Linked DNA regions of Homo sapiens: region 2 is linked to region 1. The links are contacts of gene promoters, found by promoter capture Hi-C in human tissues and cell types (Jung and others, 2019). All regions are on one chromosome and are shown on one strand. Each heading gives the region's core, a stretch centred on a gene start or on the middle of the fragment in contact. The rest is flanking DNA. Distances are from core to core; before and after follow the strand shown.

Region 1 (2,900 bases), core at 52-2,551:
CCCGTCACCATCGCACTAAGCTGCGGCGAACTCAGCCGGCTCACGTTGCAAAACCACCTGTTCGATCCGAAGGGAGCTCCCCCTACCCCCCAGCCCAGTTCTTTTCATCTCACAGGTGACAGCTTCTCTGCTCCCCCAAAGATAAATTTTTAAATGGAGCAAATGTACATCCGGGAAAAAAAATATGGAAGATAAGAGTCAATTAAACTCCCTTTCCCCACACACTTAGAATCCCCCTGCAGTTCCCAGCACACACTCACACTCAGGTCAACTCGAGACCCCCACGCATCCAGCCACATTCCACGAATCACTGCAAAACAACAGCACAAGTCAGTCGAGGTTCGAGCATCCACATCCTTTCAGAAAACTGAGCAAGTGTGAGGGAAGGGTAGCGGGAAGGGGCAATGAACTGAAGCCACCTCCAACAAGACACACAGAGACCGGAGAGGGGGAAAGCGAAGGGGAAACATTTGAGAACTGAAACGGTAAAAGTAACCACGAGCTGCACCAACACTTTCTTACCGATGTGAATGATCGAATCCGCATTCGCCGAGTCCCAGGTTCGAGACCACCAGACGGACAAAACCAAGAGAAAGGGGAAAACTTCCATCTCCTCCTATGCCGATTCTCTTGGAGGATGGATTTTCTTCCAATTTTTTTTTTTTCAAACAGTCCAAAGAGTTTGAGGTCACGGTGGAGTTTAGCGCAGCTTTTTCTTTTTTTCTAAATTCCTATTGCCAGAGCAAAGCCTTTTATCGTCGCCGAGAAAGGCAGAAGGGAATGACAGAAAGAGCCCAGCCTGAGGAAACCTCCTTCGCAAAGCCGTGTCACTTGGAGGGGAATTTTGGCATCGCCAGAGTTGTTTGCAGTTTGGCTTTTGAAAAATATATCCAGCCTCTACTGCTCTTGGGCAGGGGGAGAGGCTGGGGCTCAGATCAGACCCATCGCTGCGCGGGGGCCGCGGGTCTCCGGTCCCAGCTCCGCTGCAACTTCCAACACCCCCCTCACGCCGGATGTGCCCCCTTCCCCGCACCCTCTCGGACCAAAAAAGACCCCCGCCCCCGCCCCTACAGCCCGCAGAGAATCACTGGTCTTCGCTGCCAGAATCTAAGTGGAAAGGAAAGATTAGGAGATTCCAAACGGAGCAGCCAGATTCCACCAGGGAGGGGGGAAAAAAGCCCTCTCCAAGAGGGGTAGAAAAAGTGAACTTCAAGGTAATGCAGATAGTAATGCAGAGAAAATTCCCTTTCTGCGTGAGGCGCGGAACGCAGCTTGGCGAGGCGGGCCCGGGGAGCCGGTTTGCTGGGGCGCGGTGGCGGGGGGGTTGCGCCGGGCGCGAGCAGCGGGGCCGGGCCAGAGGAGGGAAGCCGCCGCAGGCTGCAGGATGCTTTTGGAGCGTTTCGCCTGGCGGGATGCAGGAAGCAAGGAGCGAGCCTGGCAGCTTCAGCACCAGCCCCACGTTGCCTAGAAATGGATCACCTAGGAGAAGGAGCGAGCCTGCGAGAGAGCGGTGCTGTCAGGCGGAGAGAGGGGGAAACCAAGAGAGGAAGAGCTTCTCTCTAATAACCACCTCCTCCCCCTATCTGCAATACAAGGGAGAAACAAAATAGTGCTCTCATTTCCCATGGAATCTTCAACCGGGACTGAGAAAAAGGCAGGACTGTAAAAAGACATTGAAGCTTTTTTTTTCCTTTCTTTATTTTACGAGGTTAAATGCAACCTAAAAAAGCCACCCCACTTATTTAACCTTGCTATTCTCTAACAGGTATCAGACTTTTTCTAGTCTTTGCCTGGAATTAGTCACATTGGTTGAAAACAAATTAGGGACACCTGGTCACTTAGGGAAATACAGACCTAGAAAGCTTTTAATGAGATTTCAATTATAAAGTTATAAAAAGGAGAGAACGTGCTAATTACCTTTTATACAATGATTTTTTTTTTCTGTCTCCAGTGTATTTTTTAGGCAATCAGGATAGAGAAAGGTTCCTGAAATCCTTTCTATTGATAGAAATTCTTCTCTATCAGGATAGAAAAGATCTTGAAATTAAAATAAAAAAGCAGAATAATTAAATAAAACAGAAAAATTTTTCATAAACATTTGGTCAAAATATTTCATTGAGTAGCTTAATAACCTATGTAGATAAATTCCGAATGAGGAAGTTGGGTACTCTCTTCCATGGAAAAAGCTGAGGAAGTCCTGAATGACAGCCTCTCAGTCTCCAGTGAAAGGATTTTCTGCAAGCTTATTCCTTAAGATAAAATCCTGATCATTGTGACTTCTTTTCTTATAATGATTGACTTATGTCAATCTGGCCTCATTGCAAACTGAAGATTTGTTAACACAATCGAGTGACTAGTCGAGGTCAGGTATTAATGTCATAATATTGTCTCAGTTATAATTGGAATTCTTTAGGAATGTTGGATGTGTGGATGTCAAGCTCATTACACAACCTTTCAAAGCCTTACCTCCAAGTTTGGCAAACCTCTTTTCCTCCCGTTCCCTCACTTGAGCCCTTCTCTCTAGCCTTCTGAATTGGGTTACTATTTTTCCAGACACAGTTGTACATTCTCACTTCTGGCTGTTTTCATTCATCTTGTACACTTTTTCCTGAACATTCCAGAAAATGTTTTGCTGCCATATTTTTACTTATGTTAATATTTCTGCTTGGAAAGCACGTATTTGTCCTCCCAACCACTCTCCTTCACCATCTCAAGGGCTAGTTCAAATTCCTTTTGCCCATGAAGTAGTGTCCAGTCCTTTAATGTGGAATAAATCCATCTATCTTCTATGCTGTCGTAACACACCCTATTTTGTATTAGAGTTAGACAGAACTACTACTAAGTTAGATCATAAATGCCTTGAGAGTGAAAACCAAAGCTCATTCACATTTTATTCAACA
Region 2 (2,863 bases), core at 196-2,695, 120 kb before region 1:
TGCTAGATCAGTGCTTGAGATATTTTGCAGACCTTGCACTTGATGGATTAGCTGGCACCACCCAGATGGGTTAACTGGCTCCTCTGATCTTGTGGCCCCCACCCAGGAACAGACTCAACACAAGAGGACAGCTTCAATTCCCTGTGATTTCATCTCCTACCTAACTAATTAACACCGCTGGCTCACTGGCTTCCCCTTCCCCACCAAGTTGTCCTTAAAATCTCTGATTCCTGAATGCTTGGGGAGACTGATTTGAGTAATAATAAAACTCTGGTCTCCCACAAAAATAAAATAAAATAAAATGTAAATTCAAACTTGTCTCATCTCTGCTTAAAACTCTCCAGTGGACTCCTATCATACACTGTCCAAACTCATTTCATGCCTATAATGTTCTCTTTGAACGAATCCCTGGAAAGGTCTCTAAATCTGCTCCTAGAACTCTCCATTTCACTCATTCAACTTTAGACACACTACCCGGCTCTTCCAAAAATCACCAAGCTTTTTCCCACCTGCTGCCTACCCTCTGCCAGTACTGATCTGTTTTAGGTAGCTGAAAGATTCACATTACATCACTGAGGTCTCTAAGGCTCATTTGCATTTCCTTAGATGAGTCTTCCTCATCCACCTTACTCAAAAAGGGAAGCCTCATCTCATCCTCCACTCATGCTGCTCCAAGGCATCATTCTCCATTCCTTTCTCTGCTTAATTATTTTTCCTGAACTTCCACTGCTTGACATTAAATAAAATATTTATTATTTTCTGACTCTACCACTAGAATGTAACTGCAAGAAGCGAGGAACTTTTTCTGTCTTTTCACCACTGAATCCCAAGCATCCCTTGCAGATTTGAACTATTGGCTCTCTAATAGTTAAGCTATTAACTATACTACCCAGTGTTCTTTTCTTTGTATAGTTCTGGATTAGAGTTGAACAGAAAAGGAACTTGTGCAAGATTTGGGATAGGAAAGTGAAGCAGTGGGCATTACTCTCTAAACCTACATCAGACACAGAGAGTGACTGAAACAGAGCGCCCAGCAAACTCTAGCTTGTTTTTACTCTCTTCTGCTTTGTGTCTAATTCTTATTCTCATCTATTAGTCCTGTTTGAATAACAGCAGCCTTGGACCCACTACCAGACTCTTAGCAGTGGGCCTACAGCAGATAGATCTTACAGGGTCAAAAGCTTCTAACTGACTTTTCTACAAACTTTCATTTGCAGTCCCACTTCAGCAACCAAATGTGCTTGGGTTCTCAGCATTCTCATGCCAAAGGTGACAGTGCTTTGGGAAGACTGACTGGTGATCTTTTCTCAAACTTTCTCCTTTTTCCATCTGTATTTCCTCAGCTCCTCCCACAATTGTATAAGGTCTAATTCCTATAACACATCCATTGTTCCACTGTACTGAATTCAAGTACCAGATATATAGAATGAACTCAGCAGGTATTTACTAAATTAATAAATATAAAACAGTCCGTACAGATCTTAACACATACAGAGCACTCAACAAACAAATAATTTAAATAACCATGATTAATAAATATAAATAAAATTAATAAAAGATAAAGCTCTCAGAGCTGATCATGTAAAAGGTGCAGCATTTGGAAACTAGCCATATGAAAAAGTAAATGATGGAACTGAAAAAAACAAAAAGAACTGTTCTCATTTACCTTTTAAGTTGTGTAGTAACTGACAGAGAATTTACATTAAAAAAAACTTCAGTGTGAGGGCCAGGCAGCTTGGCTCATGCCTATAATCCCAGAACTTTTGGAAGCTGAGGCAGGCAGATCACTTGAGGCTAGGAGTTTGAGATCAGCCTGGACAACACGTGAAAACACTATCTCTTCTGAAAATACAAAAATTAGCTGGGCATGATGGCACGTGCCTGTAATCCCAGCTACTCAGGATGCTGAGGCATAAGAATCACTTGAACCCAGAAGGTGGATGTTGCAGTGAGCTGAGATCACACCACTACACTCCAGCCTGGGCTACAGAGAGACACTCTGTCTCAAACAAAACAAAACAAAACAAAAAACATTTCAGTGTGGGTGATGTCCATGTCTGCTTCATCTATTTGAAAAGTTATCATTTGAAATTGGTAATTGATTTTTGTATTGATGTATTATGTGAAGGACAGACTAGGGATTGAAATTAGGAGAAGACAAATCAAATATGAAAACAAACCTTGTAAACAACAAAAATATGATTTGTCTTATAACACAAGCATGTGCTCTCCCTTTTATTATATTTAAAATATGCTAATAAATGGTCTTCAGTGATAAACAGACTCCTGTACTAGGCTGGAGCTTAGATAGGATAATCATAAAATTGTAATCAAGTTATTTGATTCTATAAATTTAAAAATAGTTTCTATGTGCATCATAACACCATATTAGGTGTTAAAACTTACTATTTAAAAGTTTATGGTAATAATTTCCAGACAAATGCAATAAATACATAAATGGATCAATCCAATTAAGTTTATATTATAGTTTAGTATTATACATGCTCTCTAGCAAAGCTATAGCAAAGAATTGACAAGAGTGAATTTGTAGTCACAGCAGAATTCTCCAAAGGGAAATAAATTTTCCAGTGATACATTTTGTGAAACCAATTTTTTAAAAGAAGTGCTAAAATCCCTTCACTGCAAACAACTCTATAATCCCCAATAATAAGCTATATGTCAAGACTATATATTTGTTCTAATTCATGCTGAAAATATCATACTTTATAATAATGACTAAGAAACTTTGATGAAATTTCATTTTTATATTTTCAGAGAACAACAGCGTAAAATTTGAAATATTTAAGTAAATAAAATAGGTATATTTTCCAATTTTCAGAGTATATTTTCTGATGATTACTAT

The links. The method cuts DNA at HindIII sites, captures the fragments that hold promoters and counts their contacts. A contact is called where the count stands out against the background at its distance.
Region 2: a fragment that was not itself captured here is called in contact with the fragment with the promoter of GRID2 in region 1 in 2 of the 25 tissues and cell types used here (H1 embryonic stem cells and adrenal gland).

The regions. Positions count from the first base shown.
Region 1 is chr4:92,302,367-92,305,266 of GRCh38, reverse strand. GRID2 (glutamate ionotropic receptor delta type subunit 2) reads right to left here and starts at 1,301. Exons shown (of 16, transcript NM_001510.4): 1 at 523-1,301. The coding sequence starts at 610. The HindIII fragment of the contact is 11,112 bases long and covers 1-2,052 here.
Region 2 is chr4:92,419,846-92,422,708 of GRCh38, reverse strand. All of the region lies in intron 1 of GRID2 (glutamate ionotropic receptor delta type subunit 2), which reads right to left. Among named protein-coding and RNA genes, the nearest start is that of GRID2, 120 kb to the right of the region's middle. The HindIII fragment of the contact is 4,438 bases long and covers 1-2,863 here.